4 separate regions of the Homo sapiens genome follow, and regions 1, 3 and 4 are each linked to region 2. Evidence: promoter capture Hi-C in 16 types of primary human blood cells and fetal thymus (Javierre and others, 2016). All regions are on one chromosome and are shown on one strand. Each heading gives the region's core, a stretch centred on a gene start or on the middle of the fragment in contact. The rest is flanking DNA. Distances are from core to core; before and after follow the strand shown. Region 1 overlaps MIR646HG (MIR646 host gene). Region 2 holds the start of SYCP2 (synaptonemal complex protein 2). Region 3 overlaps MIR646HG (MIR646 host gene). Region 4 overlaps MIR646HG (MIR646 host gene).

The links. Contacts are between HindIII fragments. The CHiCAGO score rates a contact against its expected background, and 5 or more counts as called.
Region 1: a contact is called between a fragment that was not itself captured here and the fragment with the promoter of SYCP2 in region 2, in 1 of 17 cell types (neutrophils). The highest score is 5.4, in neutrophils.
Region 3: a contact is called between a fragment that was not itself captured here and the fragment with the promoter of SYCP2 in region 2, in 1 of 17 cell types (neutrophils). The highest score is 5.9, in neutrophils.
Region 4: a contact is called between a fragment that was not itself captured here and the fragment with the promoter of SYCP2 in region 2, in 2 of 17 cell types (neutrophils and monocytes). The highest score is 5.5, in neutrophils.

The regions. Positions count from the first base shown.
Region 1 is chr20:60,190,123-60,193,229 of GRCh38, forward strand. All of the region lies in intron 3 of MIR646HG (MIR646 host gene), which reads left to right. Among named protein-coding and RNA genes, the nearest start is that of MIR646HG, 53 kb to the left of the region's middle. The HindIII fragment of the contact is 1,520 bases long and covers 886-2,405 here.
Region 2 is chr20:59,932,000-59,935,104 of GRCh38, forward strand. It overlaps SYCP2 (synaptonemal complex protein 2), which reads right to left and starts at 1,638. Exons shown (of 45, transcript NM_014258.4): 1 at 1,570-1,638; 2 at 63-155. It also overlaps a transcript of FAM217B not described here. RefSeq lists a silencer at 1,929-2,328. The HindIII fragment of the contact is 1,592 bases long and covers 1,471-3,062 here.
Region 3 is chr20:60,244,437-60,247,350 of GRCh38, forward strand. All of the region lies in intron 3 of MIR646HG (MIR646 host gene), which reads left to right. Among named protein-coding and RNA genes, the nearest start is that of MIR646, 63 kb to the right of the region's middle. The HindIII fragment of the contact is 4,957 bases long and covers 1-2,914 here.
Region 4 is chr20:60,222,501-60,225,266 of GRCh38, forward strand. All of the region lies in intron 3 of MIR646HG (MIR646 host gene), which reads left to right. Among named protein-coding and RNA genes, the nearest start is that of MIR646, 85 kb to the right of the region's middle. The HindIII fragment of the contact is 2,453 bases long and covers 92-2,544 here.

The DNA.
Region 1 (3,107 bases), core at 396-2,895, 260 kb after region 2:
GGTCTTTACCGGAACCAGGCTGTGCTGGCATCTTGATCTTGAATTTCTAGCCTCCAAAACTAGGAGAAAAACCTGAAGCAGGCTTTAGAAACTAGAATCCTTCTTCCCCAAAGCAAGCCATGACACCTAGAAAGGTCACTCTTACCTCTTCCCTTCTCCCCTGAAGTTCCTCATTGTCCTTCCTCATACCCGGGGCGGGGGAGGAATGTTTTGCAGAAACACAGAAAAGAATCTGAACAAACCGGCCTTGCTGAAGATCCCCCCAGATTATTACCATTAGATCATACCCATTTTGTTCCATTTTACTTCTCCACAAATTAAATTTTTCATCAGACTTATTATAAAAATACATAGTTTTCCCTGGGTCTTTGAATATTCATTTCGGGAGGCTCCTCACATTAACCTTTATAAAAATAAATGTGTTATGCTTTCTCCTGGCAATCTGCCTTTTGTTACAGGGTTGTCGGTCAAGACCCTTGCCATGGGTGAGGAAAAGGTGCTTTTTCTTCCCTACACGTGGGTATTTAGTTCCCTGTAATTTTATGCCACGTGTAGATTCTTGTGAACATCACTTCAGTCCAGAAACAGCATATCCGTCATAAGGCCCCTTGTGCCACTTTGTCATAGCCACACCACGCGCTTTCCTTGTCAAACTCTGGCAACCATGGACCTGCCTCCCATCTCTAAAATTTTGCCATTTTAAGAAAGTTATATAAATGGAATCATGTACTAAGTAACCCATTGAGATTGGTGTTTTTCACTCAAGGTAATTCCCTTGAAATCCAACCAGGTTTTCTCACGCATCAGTAGTTCACCCCTTTTCATTGCTGAGAGGTATCCCACAGGGGTTTCCTTTCAGGATTGTATAAGATACACTATGTTGAAAGCTTAGAATGGTGACATTATAGGTGCCTACTGCATAATGGGACATCCTGTAATGGAAGCTGGTGCTTTTCCTCTATGCAGAAACATGATGTAATTTTTAAAAATTGAGTTCAATTACACATGCAACTTTAGGACAGAAGAGATCAAGTTACCCTGGATTAAGTGTTCAGTTACGAACGGTATTGGGAGGCTGAATTGAGATGCCTCCCTCTCCTGCAGAACTTAGAAACACTGGCTTCAACAGGGCTTTAAGAAATAGATCAACACGTAATTCCCCAGATGAGAGAGGCAGAGCCAGCTAGGGAGGGAGAGAGAAGGCTGGCTGGGACCTGGGTGAATTTATTAACAACTTCAGGATGAGGTTGTGTCATTCAAAGAAGGTTTGCTGTGCTCAGGAAGCTGTGTATAAATCCCACTGGCAAATACTGGGAGTTTCATTTAGAACCTCTCTGAGGGGTAGAGAGAGCTTTAGCCATGGAGGCAATCTGGCCAGGGTGGCAAAGCCCATCAGGTGAAGCTGATGCATCTTCCTAACCCAGTGACATTAAACATTGAACACCCCTCCCTCTTCCTGTGTCTATTCCAGGCTCCCCAGGCTATGTGCTGATTATTTGTGGTACCCCCATTGTCTGCCTGCAGGGAAATAATGCAGGAATCATAGAGACTTTGAGCATCCTGTGCCCAGCATGAGTTACTTCTCATTCTAAAATCAAACAAATGATGCTCTGAATACAAGTTGGCTTCTTATGCCTACCATGCACGGGCAATCTTTTCAATCACCATGATAATTACAGGACATTTTGCTGCCATTTATTGAACACTTATTAGGTGCCAGGCTCCCCAGGAAGCCCTCTGTGCATATTATTTTGTGTCAATCCCCGCTCCAATCCTATGAGGTAGGATTGAGAGAGGGGATTAACAATCCACAGTGTGCAGGTGGCATCACTGGGATTTGAATCTAGGTGGGTTTGATGCCAGAGTCTGTGTTCTTGACCACAAAATGACAGAGATGAGTTACTGTAAGTTAAAAATTGGCATTTGGAGCTTAGACTTCAGCTGTAAAAACTTGGCATATGTGGGGTTGCCATTGTGAGAAGGATCAGCTCTTGATGTGCTGGCAAACCAGCATCTGTAAAGTCTGTGACCACAGCCTGAACCAGGGCACATTTGCAGGCTGAAGAGGACAGTAGAAATCATGATAATGTTGTATAACAATGATGGGGGTCATTGTTTAGAATGAGCTCCGTTTTAGGCGCAACAGACCAACCAGACCAGAATGGATTCATCCATACTAAGTGCCATGTAATCAAACTGACTCATACGGACCAGTTTTCCAAAAAACAGGAGATTCCTAGCAGCAGTTGGAAGAAGCCCCATTTGTCTGAAACAGCATGATACAGAAGTTCCCTCCATTTTGACCTTATAAGGAAAGTAACCTGTAATGCCCATTCTACTTTTTATTCCTTTTTTCAGCCATAAAGTCCATCTCCTTTTCTCAGCTTACAGGATCTTCTTTCTAAAGCTTTAGATGGAATGTTGCCTGACACATGACTCACTAATGAAAGCCAGCTACATCTCTAAACTAAATTGGTGAGAATGCTACTTATTTTTTTTAACAACAGTAATAAGAGGAAGAGTAGAATAGCTAAAACTTAGTAAATGAATATTTGGGTCAAGTGCTGTTCTATGTGCTTTACACATGTTAACTCATTAATCCTTAAAACAAGCCTTTGAGATAAAAACAATGGCATTAGCTGCATTTGGTAGATGAGGAAATGGAGGCACATGGGGGCGAGGTGACTTGGTGACTTGTCCAAGTCATACAGTGGTGAGGAGCAGAGCTGGGATTCAAGCTGGACAGCCTTGGTCCAGAGGGCACATACTTCACTGTGGATCTGTGCCATCCCCTCCATTATTCAGGGCCACAATGGAGGAGCTCTGGGCCTCCTGTGCTGGGTGCTGGCCTGGCCATCCTTTGAGGGGAGGGGGACACTGCCAGGCTCTTGTTGCAGAGGAGGAAGACTAGATGCCCTGCAGTGTCTGGGAGTACTTCTAGCTGCTTCTTCTCAGGTGAGGAGGAATCATTTGATCTGTCAAAATGAGTTTGGGCCAGTGAGGGTTACCCAGGTCACAAACTCTGGTTAAGCAGAAGAGGATCTAGTAAGAGCATGAGAACTCTGCTTGGGAAATGGCAAGATCAAGGGCAGAGTTATGGTCCAGGT
Region 2 (3,105 bases), core at 388-2,887:
AACAGAACGACTTCGGAAACCGAGAACAGAATAATAATGTTTCAAGAGAAGCGTGGATTTACCTGACAAGTAAGCAGGCTCTGGGCTCCAGTCTACTGAACTGGGGGACTGGTTAGCGAGCAACACAGAGAACTAGTAAGATGATGATTGTGTATCTGCAGGCAGATAAAAGCGTTACGGATAAAAACAACAACAAAGAAAACAATTTGGCAGATGGGGGAGGCAAAGATTTTCCCCCAAAGGAAAAACTGCTGAATGAATGCAAGCAGCAGTAGATAATTCAAAGTCCCCTCTGCCCTGGTAACTAACATAGCTAAGGTGTCCAAAAAGACATTAAAGGTGAATGAAGGGGAGGGAAGGCGTCCTCCTCCTCCCATCATTACTAAAAAATGTAGGCCGGGCGAGGTGGCTCACACCTGTAATCCCAGCACTTTGGGAAGCCGAGGCAGGTGGATCACCTGAGGTCAGGAGTTCGAGACCAGCCGGGCCAACATGGAGAAAACCCGTCTCTACTAAAAATACAAAATTAGCTGGGCGTGGTGGCGCGCCAAGTAGTCCCAGTTACTCCGGAGGCTGAAGCAGGAGAATCGCTGGAACCCGGAAGATGGAGGTTGCAGTGACGCGAGATCGCACCACTAAACTCCAGCCTGGGTGACAGAGCGAGACTCCGTCTCGGGAAAAAAAACAACAAAAAAAAACCACGCTGCCGTATTCGCAGATGCTCGGCCAGCCTGGAGCCCGGTCCAGAAAAGGCCGCACGTGGAGCCACGTGTCGCGCATTGAGCCGCCGCGGGACGCATCAGGCCCAGCTGCGCGGAGGGGCTGGCGGCCTCAACCGCAAGGAGAGGCCGCAGGTGGGGACGGCGGGAGGGAGAGAAGGGACTGAAGGCGCCGAGCAGGAGGAAGGTTTTGCGCGCACTCCCTTCTTCCCTAAGTGGAACCGGCAGTGGCAACAACGAGGCCGAAGGCGAAGTCCCTGCTCCCACCGCCGGCACGGTGACCCTTTTCCCAGGGTCACCCCCGAACCAACAAAGCACACACACACCCGAGATGCGCCCCAGGCCGCAGCGCCAACCCCCCTTCAGATGTCCCGGAGACAGGCGAGCAGCGGTCCCCAGGGCTCCCGTCGCCACCGCTTCTCCCGCACCCCTCAGCCTCCTCGGGCCGGCGACGCGCGCAGCCCCAGGCCTGCTCCCCGCTCGCCAAGCGCACCGCCCCGCGCCTCAGCCACCTTGACCGAGTCGCCCACGCGCGGGGGCGGCTCCGAGCGCCCATTTCCCATCCCCGAGGCCGAGGCTGGCCAGGCAGGTGCTGATGGGGAGCCTCGCGCCTGCGCGAGCCACCCTCGCCGCGAACTCTGCACAGCCCACGCCCTGGCCCAGCCTCGGCGCCTCCCCTCCGCCCACTGCCGCAGAACCGCACCCCCTCCCCCTCGGCAGCTTCCACAACGGCTCCGCCTCAACCGTCGGAAGCTTCTCGCCTGCCGGCTTGAAAGGCCAAGCCGAAGCCCCACCCTCCCTCCGCGCCCCGCCGTGGGGGAAGCCCACCCAGGCACTCTGCTCAACCTGCCTGCGGCAGGAGGCGTCCGCGTAGTGTCGGTGGAGCCGCCCCCTATGCCGCCGAGCGTCGCAACTCTGCGCCTCAGGGACCGCCGCAGCGCCTCCGGCGAACGGCGGAAGGCGGGAAGCGCCCGTCCAATCCGCGCCAGGTGCGGTCGATAGTGCGTCCAATCGGCGTCGCCGCCAGCCAGGTCCCGCCCCCCCCATCCCCCCCACCCCCGCCAACGCTCGCCGGGGTCGCCCGAGGCCTGAGCCAAGGGGGACGCTGTGGGCGCGGCTCAGGCCAGGCCCTCAGGTTAGTGGGTCCCCGCTGTCCCCGCGCTTCGGCCCGTCCTCTCGCGCTATGCTCTCCTGATGAACGCCCCGCGAGCGGAGTCACCCCCGCCAGCGAGGAGACTCGCTGCCTTGACTGGGGCCCTGGTCCCGGGACAGGCGAGCAGGAAGGGATGGAAGGGACGGAAGCGCGGGCGGGACCAGGAGAAGCCCATCCCCGCGCTATGCGTCCCCAGAGCCACTGGGACCCGCGGCTCCAGCCAGCCCTGCAGGGGCGAGCTGGACCGGGGGACCAGGGCGCCGGGCCGACGACTCCTGGGTGAGGCCTGGCTCCTGCCGGCAGGGGGCGCAGGGCCGCCTGGGCTCCTGGGTGCGGGTGCCGGAGGGCGGGAGAGACCGCAGGTCCGGAGACGGGGTGCTGAGCTGGGTACCCAACTGTGTATTCCTAGGCTCTTTCAGACGCTTCCATTTAAGAGATCCGTTTAACTTATGCAGCCAGCGGGTGCTTGTGTAAAAAATCGCAGGCCCTTCTGAGACAGGCACAGCCGCGAAAGGGTCTCCTTGCCCCTTGGCTCGCAGAGGGCGTCGGTGTTCGGCGCTCAGTCTTCTGCGTGTTTTCCCCGTGCTCGCGTTCTGAGATGGAAACTGTTCCACGTGCACTGAGATGCAGCTCGGTCTTTCTAACAGCTTCGTAATTATTTAATCATGTGGATTAACTTCATCCGAGGAATTCAATCCTCCACTGATGAGCCTACACTTCTATTACAAATAATACTGCAGCAAACCACCTTTGGATTAATATTTGTGTCGGATCAATTTTTAAAAGTTGAATTGTATGTGTAGTTAAACTTTTATAGGTATCTTCAAATCAAAATTTAAAATTATATTTTAATAACATTTTAATTTCTTATCTAAAAGGCACTAATTGTTTAAAAATATGGGATTAAGATTTAAATGTGCGGTGGAAAGCACCTGAAAAAAATAAACACAAGGTAATAGAATCAAAGCTCAGTTGTGGACCAGAGCAGATCAAATCACAGTAAATAAGCTCTCAGAGGTGTTTTAAATATTCTGCTTAGCTAGAATTACCAACTTCTTGACAACTTTGTAACTACCCCCATTGAACTTAATTTTGATATCTTAGTTTTTTAATTCAGAGCTGACAGATTACATATGCAATCTAAGGTACACAGGTGTACGCAGGGATTTGAGGGGATTTTATATGTTCAAAGCTTTCAATGCTTTTGAATTATACGTTTAAGTACTAATAATG
Region 3 (2,914 bases), core at 64-2,563, 310 kb after region 2:
GTGGAGGTGAGGGGAGTGGAGAGAGGAATGGGAGGGCTAAAAGGGCAAGGGACCTGGAGAGAAAAGGAAGAGAGTGAGGAGAGAGGGAGATGGATGGATGGATGGGAAAGGAGAAGAAAAGGTAGAAGGCTGGATGGAGAACATCTCTCTACAGACAAAGAAGACGGGGAGGAAGAGTGAGGAGAGACGAGGGGAAAAAGAACTGAGGCAAGGGGAGAGAGAGAGGGTAAAGGAGGGAAAGACAGATATGGAGAAAGAAATGGAGACCTAGAGACAGAGACAGAGGTGGAGAGAGATGGAGAAATAGAGCGATAGGGAGAGGGAGATTTCTTTCAGGAGAGCAGAGTGCGCTCCCTATCTGGAGCCTGAAGAATGGCTCTGCTCCTCCTGCTTTCTTCCTCCCACCCTTTCACCTCCCTTTTCGCTCTGGAACATTCCCTGAGGTCCCCTAATGCACTTAACTATTGCCTTGCTAACCAAGGCCTACACTTGCTGGCTGAAAACCACGTCAGTGGTTTCACCCAGAAAAACCACGTTCAGCATTCAGCTTCCAACAATAAGTGGCATAAGTAATAGCATGGGACCCCCTTTGCTGGAGGGGCTTCCTGACAATTTGTTCTCTCTGCGATGTTGAGACTGATTGCCTGGGAAAGACAATGAAATCACACGGGAAGTCCTATTATTGGGGTGAACCGTGTGACTCACTGGCTGCACAGTGGTGCATGGGGCATGGGGCGTTATTTGGGACTCTCTGGGAAGCATTAGATATGAAATTACTTTGCATGATGCAGCTCAGACGTGAATAGTGCAATGCTCAGGACTACATGATTCAGTGAGAAAATATAAATGGAAAATTACTGGAGCTGAAATTTTATTGCAAAGTTATTTATCTTTGTTATTACTTTCTGAATCCTTTTGTGCTTTTTGTTCACAGCGATGGATAGAGGCACTCTTACTTACACTTTAAGTAGAGATTAGGAGGGGAAAATATTCCTCGCTGTACCACAAAATACAGATTAAGTCTCAGCTCAGGCCTCTGATTTCACCCATTACAATGAAATGTCTACAAACTGAAATAATAACAATAAAAAAATTTTGTAGTCTTTTCCGCAGACAGTTCACATGGCTTCCTACTGATTCCATTTAGCCTTTCTTATTAGAATATTAATGGCAAAAATAGAGCTCTGATGGAGACGTGCCTGGGATTTCATAATTGCACGGACTCCAGCTTGTAACCCAGGTATTCAGAAGATGGGGCTGGGAATTTTGTTGAATCAGACCCGTAAGATAACACCAAAATCAATAATCTAAATAGCCACCCTTTACTTTTTCAAAGAGCTCTATTATGTTTAGGATTGTCACCAATATTCTCTTCTTTGATTATTTTTTAAACTGTATATGGTTTTTATTAAAAGAAAAACTAATTTTGCTTATAAAATAAAAATATGCATTGCAAAATATATGTATACATAAACATACACATTTAAGAGAGTTTTAACAAAAGATTTTCTGTTTTTACATTATTATCATGCAAGAATTTGCTGCTGTATTCAGAGAGGAAGAAATAAGAGTTTTCCTTTTCTCTTCTCTGGTTTTTACAGTCATGCCGTGAGGGCCCAGAGACTGTGTCACTGTTGTGATGATAGAGTGCAGGGCCCTTCAAAGGGAGGTCTGTGGGCCAGCAGCACCCAAGGTAACCCTGGGGAGCTTGTCAGAAGAATTCAAAATGTGCGTCCTGGGCCCCCACCCTGGACCTGTGTGGTGGGGCCCAGGAATCTGTGTTTTAACAATGGGTTCAAGGTGGACATGCTTGGATACAGAGGCCTTTTCACTGGTAGATGTTGCCACTGGGTGGGAATTAGGATATTGTGTCTGGAGTCAAATTGCCTGGGTTCAAACCTCAGCCCCACCACTCTGTCCCTTAACTCTGTGGTATCAGGTAAGTTATTTTTTTCACTTATGTATTTATTTATTTGAGGCAGAGTTTCGCTCTTGTTGCCCAGGCTGGAGTGCAATGGTGCAGTCTCAGCTCACTGCAACCTCTGCCTCCCGGGTTCAAGTGATTCTCCTGCCTAAGCCTCCCAAGTAGCTGGGATCACAGGCACCTGCCACTATGCCCAGCTAATTTTTGTATTTTTAGTAGAGACAGGGTTTCACCATGTTGGCCAGGCTGGTCTTGAACCCTTGACCTCAGGTGATCCACCTGCCTTGGCCTCTCAAAGTGTCGGGATTACAGGTGTGAGCCACTGCTCACTTGCTTATCTTAAAATAATGCCTTGGCAGTGGGGTGAGGTGCAGTGGGGGACATTTTGGGGTGCTTGCAAGTGTGTATCCTCATTCTCTGTTAATCCCAAAGGGCTCTCCTCCCAAGCACCCAACGAGCAAGATGGGTCTGAGGATACCTGTGAGAAGTAATTCAACACATCTTTCACACATGGGCCAATTTGCTGGTCTAAGTTAAATTGGAGTGACAAGGACAGCTGCTTAAAGAGTGAGTTCTAAAGCCCCAGGAATTAGGTGATGTCTTGAGCTGGGGTGAAGCAAGGCAAGTGGGATGGGGAGAGATGGCTGGCTTCTGCAGGAGTGAGGCTAAGGGAGGAAGGCAGGGCTGCCCGGCAGCCCGCATGTTCCAGAAGAGGCCACGAGAGATGTCTGTCCCACAGGGGCTTATAGCACCTTGCACTCCCTCAAAGGGCGGTGTCTCATGTCCCCTCTGTTAGGCTCTGGGTGGGCTTTTGTGACAGCTTTGATAATGTTCTGGAAGAGATGCTGCTGGGCTTCTGGGCTCCCGCGACCCCTTAGAGAAAGTGGTGCAGCTTCTCATTGGCTCTGTCTCTCTCCGAACACGCCCCTTTTGGAGCCCTCTGGAAAGGAAGACACTGAGCAACCAAATAACATATTTTGACACTAATTT
Region 4 (2,766 bases), core at 68-2,567, 290 kb after region 2:
AAAGAGAATGACTACCTACACAGAATACTTTTACTGTTGTGTGTGATGAGTGATGCTTTAGGTGGTTGTTACAAAGAAGGCATCTCTGAGAAGCTTGGAAAGGATGAGGAGGAGGCAATTGTTCCAAGATAGTGAACACCCGGGAGCAAGCTCCAAGGAGTGGGAGTGGCCTGTGCAAAGGCCCTGGGGCAGGGCATGAGTAGGATTTTCCAGGGAGTAAAGGAAGTTGATTGTGGCTCAGTGCTCTGAAAGGATCATGGGCCGGGGCACAGACTGTGCAGCCCAGAGGGAGGGATTTTGGAGAAATAATGGAAAAACCATTGCAGGGATTTCAGCAACAGGAAAAGCAACCTAATTTATGTGATAGGCTCATTCTTCTTGCTGTGATATAGAGAATGTATTAGAGGAGAAGAGTGGAAGTGAGGGGCCATTTGGAGGTGGTGCCAGAGCCTGGAAATAATGGTGGCCTAGACTAAGCTGATGGCATGGAGAGAATGTGCATGGATTTAAGATCTCTTAGAAGCAGAAATATAATAACCATAACATACACTATTATTATTATAACCACCACTTCCTGATAACCTACTCTGTGCTGGGCAGTGTGCTTATAGTCTCATATATAATATTCAATTTAACCCCATGCGGTAGATACTGTCTTTATCATCCATGTTTTGTAGATGAAAAAATGGAGCTTCCTAAAAATTACATTGATACAGGGCAGGGGAGCCCCAAATTGGGGCTTAGACCAAAAGGGTTCTTTGCTTCACCCAGGAAAGAATTTGAGGGTAAGCTGGTGGTAGAAGAAAATGCTTTATTGAGATGGCAGTGTTACAGCCCCGTGACTGCTCCCACAGAACAGGCCACCCCATAGGCGGTGTGCTGAGAGTAGCAGGCCAGGGCAGTTCTGCAGTCGTATTTATACCCACTTTTTAATTTAAATTTAATTTAATTTAAGTTTTTGAGACAGAGTCTCGTTCTGTTGCCCAGACTGGAGTGCAGTGGTGCGATCTCAGGGTCATAGATAGTTTTTGTAAATGCTAAAGTAATATTCAAATTTGTATTACTTTCAGAGAATAAAGAACCACCAGTCCTAACAGCCCTAGTACAGTTTTTTCTTTTCTTTTTTTTTCTGGAGATAAGACTTCAGGAACAGGAATGGAAATGTCCTTTCAGAGAATCTCATGTCTAGAAAGTCCCAGAGAGGGTCGAACCTGAAGTTCTTTTTCCCTGAAACCAGAAGGAAAACCTCAGCTTGGGCTTAGGGCCTGTTCTGCCTCTGGAAACATCTCTGTTCTCCCATATATTATATTCCCCACTATGTGATGGCCCCTCACATTAGTCAGGAGTGCCTAGAACGTGTGTCCCTCACCGCCTTCCCAGGGGGTCTGCCCCCCAGAATGCCTGGCTTCACTTTCTACCTCTTTTGCAGAGCTTGCCTTGGCAAAACCATCCCCAACACCTCTCCTTCCACAACTCCCGTCCACCCCATTCTCCTCTCCTGCTTTGCCCATGATGATAATCACTAACATTTATTAAGCGGTTACTCTTTATCGAGAGTTTTGAAAGTGCTGCCTTGTTGGGCCCTGCCAGCCTCCCCAACAAGTAGGAGTTGTCCTATACATTCTGCTTACACATATGGAAACTGAGGTTTAGAGAGGTTTCAGGAACTTGACCAAGTCAGTCATGCTGGTGAAAGGTAGCCTGGGATTCCAGCCTCCATCCCTTTGAACAGCTGTGTCTCTGTTTCTCCATCTCCTCCTTGAGGTCAGGGCCTCATTGTCTCAGTAACTTCAGCGCTAGCAGAGTGCTGGGTGTGCGGGCACCCAGTACACATTTGCTGAGTTGAACTGAGTGCTAGAGAATGTTTGAGTGCATTGGAATGTTTGAGCTGGGCCAGATGCAAACCCAAGGTGTCCCATTGTCACAACCAGACACGGCGGCTGTACCCAGGTATGACAAAATGCTGCTGCTGCAGCTGATGGCAGGAAATCATGATGGAACACCTATTTTGTGTCAGACGCTGTGGAAAGCAATTCACAAAGTCATCTTCTATGGCCTGAACGTGATCTCCCCAAATTTATATTTTGAATCCTAATCTCTAATGTAATTGGGATTAGTGACTTTATTTTAAAAAGGCCCTGGAGAGACTCTTCAGCCCTTCTACCACTTGAGAGCATAGCAAGAAGACAGCCGTCTAGGAACCAGGAAGCCGGACCTCACTAGACATTGAATGTGTGGCATCTGAGTCTTGGACTTCCAGCCCCCACAACTGTGAGAAATGCATATTTTATTTTATTTTGTTTTGTTTTATTATTATTATTTTTTGAGACGGGGACTCTGTCTGTCACTCAGCCTGGAGTGCAGTGACACAATCATAGTTCACTGCAGCCTCAACCTCTCAGGCTCAAGCGGTCCTCCCTTTTCGGCCTCCCAAAATTCTGGGATTATAGGCGTAAGTCACCATGTTCATCCAAGAAATAAATTTTGTGTTGTTTATTTGGACTAAGATATCATCTTATTTTATCCTATGAAGGATCTGTTGTAAGCTTCAGTTAAGTGACTGGCCTGGCCGATGGAGACCAAACCTGGCCATGGGACTTGGGAGATGTAACCATCAGCATCACTTGCCCCCAAGGACCACCAGAGGGCAGATGAGAGGCAGGGGAGGACTCACCCTCAGAGCCCCAGGAGGAACCAACCTGGCTGACATCTTGATTTTGGAATTCTGGCCTCCAGAACTGGGAGAGAATATATTTCTGTTGTTTT